2 separate regions of the Homo sapiens genome follow, and region 2 is linked to region 1. Evidence: promoter capture Hi-C in 16 types of primary human blood cells and fetal thymus (Javierre and others, 2016). All regions are on one chromosome and are shown on one strand. The core of a region is centred on a gene start or on the middle of the fragment in contact, and the rest is flanking DNA. Distances in the headings are between cores, read along the strand shown.

Region 1 (6,200 bases), core at 1,682-4,181:
TAGTAATGTATTAAAGATGCAGTAGCTCTGTTGAAGTGAAAACTATAGCAAGAAATTTCTAAAGTTAATTTTTCTCATCCAACATAAATGGAATATTAGAAGTTTTACTGAATGTTATTTTATTTTTACTTTTTTAAAGGGACTCTAAAAGTTTAAGGTGTTATTTACTACACGTAAATATTCGTGTAGTATACTACACGAATTCGATTGCATACTACATGTTCAGATTGCTGGGTAAGGATGTTAGAAATGAAATTGGTTTTGGTCACCATTGCTAGTGGATGTAAAGAAATGACTGTGGTAGCAAGTTAGAATGCCATGATATGGAGCCATTTACCCTGCCATTCATTTTTCACTTCTCAAAAGGAATGATGTTTCTATATCGTTTGTTAAATTTTCTAACATGCCCATGGAGGAACGCTCTTGAATGCTCATTTGAGGAGCATACAGTGTTGTCTTTGTCAGTATTTGGGGTTTTATCTTTTTCTGATTGATGGAATTGCAGCAGGATGAATAAATACATAGGCCATTAATATATATGATGAGCAAATGTGTTGAAAATTACAGTTTTTACAGGAATAGGCAGTTATGCTTTTACAGCTTAGGACAGGAGATTATTTGATTTGGAATTGTGGTGATGAAATTTTCATGGAGTGTTAGGGCCAGGGCTTTTGCTCGTGGTTTGGAAAAGATGTTAGTAAGCACCAAAGGGTGATGGCATTGTCCCAAGGACAAATAATAATAGCGCAACATTTCTACAGTTTGTTTTTTTAACATTAAAAATAAATCTAAAATGGCAATAATGGAAATAACATATAGATCAGTAGACAAACCAGTTGGAAATTTTACCGTTTAGCTTATGTATATCTTTTTTTCATTGTCCATCTTTAAGCTTTTATTTCCACATCTTTTCCTTTTTTTTCCTTATAGTTTCTGGGTTTATTTATTTGTTTATTTATTATTATTATTTTTTGAGACGGAGTTTTGTTCTTGTTGCCCAGGCTGGAGTGCAATGGTGCAATGTCGGCTCACTGCAACCTCTACCTCCCGGGTTCAAGCGATTCTCCTGCCTCAGCCTCCCAAGTAGCTGGGATTACAGGCATGCGCCACCATGCCCGGCTAATTTTGTATTTTTAGTAGAGATGGGGTTTCTCCATGTTGGTCAGGCTGGTCTCGAATTCCTGACCTCAGGTGATCCGCCTGCTTTGGCCTCCCAAAGTGCTGGGATTACAGGTGTGAGCCACTGCGCCTGGCCTAGTTTCTGGGTTTTTTTGAGGCATTTCATTTTGAATCAAATTCACATGTATTTCTAAGCCTTATCCCAATATAGCTTTTCTGTATCACCCATGAAGGAAGCATAAAAAAGAACTTCAAATGCACCTACCTCACTCATATCAAAACTTTCATCTGCAGCAGAAAGCTGACTATCTGAAATTATATATTTTTCAGTTCTTAGAAATAATTATTTCTGGAAAATTTTTCATGGATGCTACAACTAGGTATAACTTATTACAGAAAAGGAAGGTAGTATGACCCAAAGCAAATTCAAAAATTTTAAGTTTTGTTTTGCATATTGAATGAAAGAAAAGACAAAGACTTTTTAAAGGGAGTGATTTCCTCTTGGGTATTATGTTTTTTGCTCTAGGGTCATTTGAAAACAATACTGACGAGATTCGCTTTTCTAGTATAGGTATAACAATATTACATTTATAAAAATGTGAGTACTGGTAGCTATAAGATTTGGGACAGATAAATCAACCTGTTCATCTTGAGTTTATACACAGGCAAGAGAACTGAAGCAAAAGGATTATCTTAGGTTTCTGCTGTGCCATTCTAGGATTTTTATAAAATTAAACTAAGTGGGTAAATATAGCCCTCTAGTGGTTCTGTTTTATGCTTACACTGTTAACTTTGGTGCATCTAAGCATTTCTCTAATGTTTACTGATTTTAGGAAACTGAGGAGAATCAGATTTTAATAATGTTAATGGCATAAAGAATATGGGAAAAAAGGTAATAGGGATACCTTATTATTCTAACAAAACATGCTCAGGTTGGTTTTCAGGTTGTAATGTGATAATCCAGAATATTTTTATTCTGTACTTTACAATATCAGTGATTGAATTCAGATACTCTGGCAAAGTATACAATGATTACTATCATCAGATAATATTAATTACTCATGTGCATATCAAACTATAGGGGAAATTAACGGATGGTGGAGTTGATCATATTATATCCATGCTATGAAATACATAGCTACTAATAAATTAGACTTTATTAGATTCTGGGTTTATTAACTTGGATATTATAATACAGCCTTATGGGAAAACAAGTTGCATTATATATATACATTTGTACTTATTTTTTTCCCTCATTTTTATTTACAAGAAGAAAGTGGAGGAAACCTGAAACACTTGTATGAATATGTGTATAAGCAGAGAAAAGCCTAAGAAAGGATATGCACCAAACAATACTGGTACCTTTAGGAGAGTGAGATTTGGAAGTAGGAAGGAGACTACTTCTTTGTCACTAATATTTAAATTGTTAAGAAAAAAAAAACAACAAAAGGAGCCGAAATGGAAAGACTTGAATGGTCAACAGAAAACAGGGACCTTAATCCGAATAGTTTTAGAGGACTAAGGCTGGCTCCTATACTGATTTCCTGAGTTTGTTTATTGTTAAATGGGATGTGTGTGCTTGATAATCTCCTTAGATAGAAGACTGATGCCCAAATAGGTTAAAATGTGTGGTGCTTGGTATTTCTTTTTGTTTTGCTAATAAGCTTTTCCCTTATTCTGGGAATTAAAGTCCTTTCCTCTTTAGCCCAATTAAATTTGTTAAGGGAGGGCCTCTATGAAAAGGCCCTTCTTTGAGGTCTCTAAGTGGAAATGATTGGTCCTAAAAAATCTTTCCTCAGTAGCTCATAAAGCAGTTCATAATTATCGAAGGCTTATTATGAAGGGTGTTTCGGTATCTTCCCTCCAAAATGCTAAGAAATAATTTAGGCAACAGTTCAGACTCTAAAAATGAAGATGGCTCGGTCTTTTCACAGACTGAACACAATATTGTTGCAACTTACTTGATTATGGCAGGTATGGATATTTAAGTAAGTTATTTTTCTTTAGAATGGGTGAAGAAAGGCAGAAGTTTTCAGCATAAGGCATGCATTGTTTCAAGTTCCATATTATTGGCCAACCTTGACAAGTCATTTATCCTGACTTGGCTTGCTCGTTGGTAAATGAGGATGATGATACTCTATTTCTGGGCTGTAAAGATCAAATAAGATAATGTGGGTGAAAGAATAAGGGAAAGCATTGTTAGTGATGGCCATTGCCACAGGTTATTTTGAATTTTGGTAAATAAGAGCAGTGAAGTGGGGCTGAGAAAAGTTTTCTATGTGATAAATAGTTCTTTCATAAAAATCTATGTATTTGATTATTGGATTGTTAAAGTTTTTATTGGAGAAGAGTATGCACCATGGCAAAAACATATTTTTATGTCATTTACTATTCTTATACATAACCCTCATATTTTTGTTCTTGGTGGTAGAATTTAGCTAAGAACTTAAAGGTTCTGGAAAGAAAAAGTCCTAAGAAGACAGAGCAGGGTATATTGTCATTGAGGACAGAGTCTGAAAATTCAGCTTGTTCCAGAATGCTTATTGGAAAACTCTTGAGTTTTGGATTTCATCTTTTAGTATATTTGCAACTGTGAGCATGTATCTTCCCTTTTTGTTCTTCCATTTTCTCATCTGTAAAACAAGGATAAGAATAAGTTATCTGTCATGATTGTTATAAGGAGTAAAATTAAGTGACACATAAATGCCATATAGTAGGTGTTGGACAAATATTTGTTTCTTTTTCCCTTTCCTCCCTACACACTCATTGATGTAAAGGATTGTTTGCAGAAAAAAAGGGATGGGGGAATGACAGAAACTTTTTATCTTTTTAATGTATCATTGAATTGTGTAACTTTTATATTGAGCAATCACTTAATTTTCAACTTTATACTCTAACGAGTTGTAGAAGTAACTCTTATATTGAGTTCATTATTTTTTGGATTGACTTTTATAAAAATTTTCAAACATTCAAAAGTAGAGTGAAAAGTATAACACACCATCCTATACCCAGTTTATAATTGTTTACGTTTCTTCCTTATAATTCAGCGTATTACTTCTAGTACTGGAAATTGAGTTCCTCAGTTAAGTTTTGCGATTTTAGTGACGTTATCTCGTTCATTTGAATACCTCTATGATAAGTACTAGACAAGTTCTAGTTTTTTTGTAATTGCAAAAAAGACTGAGAAAATCTCCTAACAATTACATGGAAATACTTTGTATACAAGTGTTTGGTTTAGTTAGTTATTTGTAGATGACCAAAAAAAAAAAAAATCCAAAAAACAACCAAAACTATCCTTTTTTGACCTGGTTACAAAATTAGCATGCAGAAAATATTCTATTTAGTTCTTATCTCTGTAACAGTAATAATAATAGTAATCTTACTACTACTGCTACTAATGTTATCATTTGAATACTTGCTATATACCAAGCACTGTTCTAAAACCTTACACATACAGAATAATTCATCCTTACACTAATTTAGTAAGTTACTCTTCAGTTTTATTTCTCTAGTTTATACAGATGAAGAGCTTAAGAAACTTGTCCAGCACACACATTTACTAAGCAGCTACACCAGGATTTGAACCCAGGCATTTTGGTTCTAGAGCCCTCACATATAAATCCAAGAGTCAGCTTTATCAAGGTATACAATGAGTGTGTGTTGTTTGTGTTTCTGGTGGATCCACTGAAGGAAGCATAGCTGAACTCTTTATGCTTTTGTTCTGCCCCTGTATCAAGCATCTATTTTTCTTTAGATCCCCTAACTTTCCTCCTTTAACAAAACTCACTTAAAGTTGCAAATCAAAACCAAAACTATGAGGAAAGGGTGTAGTGAAAGCATTTATTTCATTCGTTACTTTTACCAAGGGCCTATTTAGATTTTTTATTTAATTTTTAATTTGATCTTTCATTTATAGTTTGGCTCCTATAAACTGTTACAACTTCCAGTGCAACAGACATTTTGTTAATTTAGTGTCCTTGAGCACTCTCCCTTTCCCCAGTTAAGGCTGGGAGGTAAGAGGACATGGTGAATTTGAGGATCTGAAATAAATCATTATGTTTGAACTGTAAAATGAAGGGTGAGAGGTTGAAAAAGATGGCTGAGTACCAGACAGTGATGAGCCGTGTAAGTTTTAAAGGTGACAGGGAGTCACTGAAGGGTTTGAAATGGGAGTGACATGATCTGATTTGTGTTTTAGAAATGTGCTATAGTGGTAGCTAAGGGACCACATAGGAGGCCATTGCAGTGATTCTGAGGAGGGAGTAATCGCAGTGGGGACAGAAAAAAGTAGATACATTCAAGAGCCAGAAGGTGGAATTGATGATTGGATGTTGGGATTGTGGGAGAAGGAGAGAAGTATCAAAGATGATGCCTAGGTTTCTTTTTTGAGCCACTGAATAGATGGTGATGCTCTTCATCAGATGGGAACACACCTGGGGAAGAACAGGTTTGAGGCAGGAGAAAAAGTCTCTCAGTTCAGTTTGAGAGGTGTCCAATAAAAAGCTGGACACATGGGTTTGAGTGTCCGGAGGCTGAAAAATATCAGGGTATAGCCTTGGGTATGAAGAAATTACTCAGAGTATGTGTTAAATGTGAAAAGAAAGGGATCTAGGACAGAAGGTTGGACAATGCACATATTTAATAAGACATAGATGGAGAAAGAAAGGCCAGGAAGTAGATCAAGAAGGGTCTGTTGAAGAGATTGCACGGAAGTCACGGAAGACAAGAAGGAAAATGTTTCAAGAGTGAAGGAGAAATCAACATCAAGTGCTACTTAGTGTTTAGACTGACTGTGAAATGGGACTTAACTAAAATCTAACAACTAGGTGATCTTTTGTATACTCATTAGAAGACCTACAGCTGTGGAAACAAGGCAGTGTGCTTGGTACAGCTGCAGAGAGAATAGAGAAAAGGGCTAAACTGTTTAGTTCATAACCCCCATTATTTCTAAGACTCCCAGAATTATAGTTCCTTTATTCTGGTTGCGTACTTGGTAGGCAGCAATTTACTGCACTGTTTTTATCTAACTTTAAAAAGTCATTGAATTTGTAGCTAGCCCAGAAAGAGTCTTCATTTCATTA
Region 2 (5,552 bases), core at 422-2,921, 85 kb after region 1:
TGAATTAGCTGCGATTGATTTTCATCATCAGTCATCAGCCATAGCATCTGCTATACCTCTGTTGACTCCGTCATCTCCTAGGGAGCTTGTACTCAACATTAATGACAACATTAGCCCAGGTGACATGTAATTAAGAAAGCAAACCTTTTTCCAACCAAAAATAATATGAGAGATTCCAAATCCAAACAGAACAGAGCTGTGGATCATTTCATGTTTGTCTTCATATCATTCTCTCCACTCCACTCCACTGACACAGCGTGATGCTTGATTGTCCTCTAAGCCCCTTCCATTGCTGTCATCTGGGATGCTGGCAATGTATTGTGCTGAAAGGGAAGCTTATTAATAAAGTTAGTAACTCGAAGAGTCAGTGCAGGTTATTTGTAGGATGCTCATTATGAGTCTTGAGTCTGACTCAGTCCAGAAAGCAATGGAATATTCCGCATAACCACCTAAAGGACTTCTCTTTCCCCCTTCCCCAGGGTCTGTTTCTCCTGTAAGGGTTCAGAGCTGCCTGGCAGAGGCTGGCTGAAATAGGAGAAATCCTGACTTAAGCTGTTTCAGGAAAGTGATCCAGTCTTTGGAGAATAATCAGGACATAATTAAGTATGAGTAAAAGGCTTAGAGTTAGTCTGTTCTCCTCTGTAATGGGGTGTTCACTAGTGTGACAGTTGTTTTTGTGACTATTGCTTTTACGTACATTTTTGACCAGCACTTGGAACACTACCTCAGGGTAACTTAAATGAAAGTCCATTTTCCAGGATGGAGTAAACTGACAGAAATTTCCATCGTGCATCAAATCTGCTATAAGTTGTTTGCCTTCTGGGTATTTTTGGGCCCTAGTTGTACTCCTGAAGAAATAACCACTGTTGCTCCAAGTAGAAAGTGGTTGAGGAGACAGCTAACAGATACGTCCAGTTCTTATTTTCTATCACAGAGATGTGAAAAAAAAAAAGCCTAAATTATCTTAGAAGGAAAAGCATTCCTCTGTGCTGGATTTCCAGTGCTTCCCAGCTTTGCACTGTTAGCTTATTTTTTCCAATGTCCCTATAATAACAATCCACTCCTTTCTCTGCACTCCTGGCCCCTCGTGATGTTTTATCATGCTCATGCTGAAAGAAAAGGTGTCTGTCCATACTGTATCTCTTCATTTGGCCTCAGGGATTTCCCTTTGATTTGGAAAGAATAATCTTTCAAATTCCGCTATAAACTATACAGGAGAAAGAGAAAAATAAGATAAAGCTCCTGGAATGTGCACTGGTATTGACATTTCGTTCAAATAATGGGCTGAAGGTGAACTATCTTTACTATTGCTCATGTGAATGATCAATTATTATCAATCCAAACTATCAACAGTGCTGCTTATTATTGATTTATACTGCATGGTTTAATTTTGTCTCCATCCTTCCAGACATTAAAACATAGCCAATATTTAGCAGTTCCCGCCATTCACCATGAGCACCTCCACAGCCCCCAACTCCTCTCTCCCAGTTCTGCCCAGGATATTTATGGTGAGTAGCGAGTTATCTCCTCTTTGGCAGTCATCCCTGCTTTCCTGTGTGGAGGAATTGCCCACATTCGCATTTGCAAACAGAGGCTCACTCAAGTGTCACTAAAGGAAAGGAGGTGGAGCCTGAAGAGCTTTAAAAAGCAAAGCTGAGTCATTCCACTTTTCAAAAAGAGAAACTGTTGGGAGAGGAATCGTATCTCCATATTTCTTCTTTCAGCCCCAATCCAAGGGTTGTAGCTGGAACTTTCCATCAGTTCTTCCTTTCTTTTTCCTCTCTAAGCCTTTGCCTTGCTCTGTCACAGTGAAGTCAGCCAGAGCAGGGCTGTTAAACTCTGTGAAATTTGTCATAAGGGTGTCAGGTATTTCTTACTGGCTTCCAAAGAAACATAGATAAAGAAATCTTTCCTGTGGCTTCCCTTGGCAGGCTGCATTCAGAAGGTCTCTCAGTTGAAGAAAGAGCTTGGAGGACAACAGCACAACAGGAGAGTAAAAGATGCCCCAGGGCTGAGGCCTCCGCTCAGGCAGCCGCATCTGGGGTCAATCATACTCACCTTGCCCGGGCCATGCTCCAGCAAAATCAAGCTGTTTTCTTTTGAAAGTTCAAACTCATCAAGATTATGCTGCTCACTCTTATCATTCTGTTGCCAGTAGTTTCAAAATTTAGTTTTGTTAGTCTCTCAGCACCGCAGCACTGGAGCTGTCCTGAAGGTACTCTCGCAGGAAATGGGAATTCTACTTGTGTGGGTAAGTACTCCAATGAAAAGGTGCTCCAGGTCTCCGGGAAACTGCCCCCACATCCCTGTTGGTTCAATCTGGTATACTTGGGCATTTAACAAAGTTTGTCTTTGGGTATGTATAGTTGCTTAATTTTTGTTTTCTGATGCATGTTTATTTTCTTACTGGCCATTAGAGCTAATCTGCTACCAACTATAAAACTTCATAACTCTCAAACTGTACTTCTGTGTATAAGTGAATGAATATGCCTCATTTTAAACTAGCAGAACATTTCATGGAAGCTTCAGCTTTTACTCTGACAAGAGGAGTAATTAACACCTGGCTAATTGCTTGGAAATTAGGGAAACAGATGGTTGATTTTTTGTTTGTCTGTTTGAAACTCTTAAGCCACAAAGAAAAAAATCCTTCCTTCTGATAACTTGTAAGAATTCAGAAGTTCTAAAAATTAGTGAAAAATGGAAAGGGAACTGTGAACAAAGGTAGTTGTGAAAATTAACCTAAATTTCAATTTCAACCTCCTTCACTTTCTCCCCACTCTTACTGTTTCTGAGGCTCTGACACAACTCCGGAGTTTTAGTAACAGGTGCATTGCAACTTTAAGAACTGCCAAATATGATAATGGGTAAATAAGCCACACTGTCCTCTCATATTAAATGAATTTTTTGCCAAGGGGAAATGGGAGCTTGACTGAATGCGAATTACAATCCTGCCAAAGGATATTGCCTGAAAAACATTCTCTCTCTAACTGTTAATTCATTTATTTAATCCTTGGGTGAGCCTCCAACCTGCTGCTTAGACACGGCAGCCGCCTTTGTTGATGAGAGGTTATAGCTGCCCCGACATTCCATTTTTATCAGCTTGCCCTTTTGAGATGGCGTCTGGCTTTTAAAAAGAGGTAGATTGAGGGGGAAAACACAGTACAGTTTCCAGAAGAGACACCTATGGAAGACAGTACACAATAGGCAATAGTTTGAATAAAGAGAGCAGAATGGAGCCAAACTGCCAAAGCTAGGCTGCTGTCCTGGCTCTCCCATTAAGGAAGTTCCCGATGAGGAAATCAGGTGCTTTTGCTCAGAATCTCTGGACTCTGTTCTCAGGTAGCACTCCTTGTAACAGGTGAGCAGAACTCTAGGGTATTTGAAATAAAGACTTAATCCTAGTGATCTCTATGTTCCCAGCACCTAGGACATTCCTGCTTCCACAGTGTGTACTCAGCAAATTCTTGTGTATGAATGAGGCGTCTTTCTCTGATCTGCTAATGACATAGTCCTAGAGAACAGCAACAAAAAGAGGGTGACAAATGACAAAAATGGCCCCATGAACCTCAGACTCAGCTGTTGGAGACAGAAGTAAAACTTCTGTATACAGTTATGTCAAATGGACTGGACTCTCTTTGGGGTGGGAGAATTTTCCGTGGAGTAGTTGGCAAATATCTAGAGTTGGGCACTGTCATTTGCATGGGATGTGAGGGGTGATGGTTGGGCCGATCTATCAGGCAGCCAGAAGCTAGGAAAGAAGAACCCAGGTTGCTGAAGCAGAACCCAAGAAATTACAAAAATGAGCTTTTATGGATGGCTCTAGGATCTCAGAATAGTCTGATTCCTGCTGGCAAGCAAGTCTATGCCTTGTTTTCCTTGCCACCTCTGGTGGCTCAGAAGTGCCTTCATTGAGGTAGGTTGTACCCAATAAACATGAAACCCAGGATAGAAACAATAAGTTGGGGAGACTGTGTCACAGAGTGGAAGGAACCACAGGTTTTAGAAACAAACAAGCCTCATTTCATATCCATGCTACCAACTTAATAGCTGAGTTACTTTAGAGTATCTCTGGGAAATAATACCCTCGCCCACTGCTTTTAGGATTTTTTTGTGGGGAATCACATGAGATAACCTAGCATGTACCAAAGCATGGTGCTTAGCAGAGTATGCTCAATAAATGTCCTCCTGGGCTCCACGTCTTGGCTAAATCTCTGATCAAGTCATACGATGAGATGCCGTATTTGAACAGTGCAGTGACACGGCACAGATCCATGGAGTGTGGAATGTGTGGATGGCACTTTGGGATTCCCTGCCTCTCTGCTACCTCATTTCTTGCAAGTCACTGGTTTAAATCCCGTACTTTACGCTCCTGGTCTCATGTTAGCTGATAACTGCCTGGGTCACCCTTTGTCAGTCACTGTGTGCATTTCAGAGGATAGTATTTCTTTCTCCTCTCTAAATAGATATGGTGCCATCATCTATTTTTCCCTCATTTAAATTCTACTTGCCTTATTTCTTGCCCTTGGCATTGAGACAGATCACCTCTGCAGCCACCTGACCCAGCAGGAAGAATGCTTTATGGTCTAACAGTATTCAGGTAAACTTATGCAAGATTGTTACTCATGTGACTGCTAGCCGGATAAACCAAGTGATAGCAACACAATTAGGTTTCTTTCTATTCCCCTCCCTCTCCCTCCTTTTAACTGAGTATTCTGTTAGCGTCTACTTGAGCTACAGCAGGTGAGGACAGCAGGAAAGAAAACTGCTGGCAAGTGGTTTCTGAACCTTCAAGTCTATTTACCCTGGAGGACAAATAACAGTTGAAAAAGAAATTGTTCCTGTTTGGCTTCTGTACCTGCATTATTTATATGAACTTTTTTGGTAATAAAGGGTAAGGAAGAAGTACAGCCTCCCAGCTGCGGGAGGGATCCTGGGGTGGCACTAAGTTATCACTTTTAGTAGTAAACAGTGAAATCAGTGATTTCAGTACCGGCTAAGGCGTGGTCAGCATCCCAGTCATGTGCAAACCAGAGTAATTCTGAGACCAGAAGCTTGTCTGTTTTTTCAGCCAGGGTTATGCGATTTTTTTTCTTTTTTTCTAACAGCAGTGAAACTAACCTCCAAATATTCAGTGGTGTTTGGTCATTGAGCTTAGTGGTAAAGAAGCATAAATTTTGGAGACAGATTTCTTGCCTGGATTCAAATCCCATTTCTGCTGCTTGTGAACTGTTTGTCTCATTTTCCTTACCCTAAAATGAAGATAATTGTACCCTCTTCCGAGGACTCTTGTCAGTATTGCGTTAATGTATTCATTTTCAGTGCTGGCTGTGCATTAGAATCACTAATGTCTGGGTGGCCACCCCGGGCAGTCTGGATCAGAGTCTCTTCTGGGAGTGGAATCTAGGCCTTATTTTTTTTTAATGTGGTGATTCTAACCAACAGCCTGGGTTAGAACCACTGAGTTAATATATGTAAAGTGCACAAAACAGAGCTTGGCATACAATAAACACTCGATAAGCCCGAGATTCTATTAATGTTTTGTTGTTTTAAAA

Evidence for each region. Contacts are between HindIII fragments. The CHiCAGO score rates a contact against its expected background, and 5 or more counts as called.
Region 2: a contact is called between the fragment with the promoter of EGF here and the fragment with the promoter of RRH in region 1, in 1 of 17 cell types (megakaryocytes). The highest score is 5.3, in megakaryocytes.

Annotation. Positions count from the first base shown.
Region 1 is chr4:109,825,041-109,831,240 of GRCh38, forward strand. It overlaps RRH (retinal pigment epithelium-derived rhodopsin homolog), which reads left to right and starts at 2,932. Exons shown (of 7, transcript NM_006583.5): 1 at 2,932-3,093. The coding sequence starts at 2,988. The HindIII fragment of the contact is 4,893 bases long and covers 2,782-6,200 here.
Region 2 is chr4:109,911,212-109,916,763 of GRCh38, forward strand. It overlaps EGF (epidermal growth factor), which reads left to right and starts at 1,672. Exons shown (of 24, transcript NM_001963.6): 1 at 1,672-2,251. The coding sequence starts at 2,125. The HindIII fragment of the contact is 2,188 bases long and covers 334-2,521 here.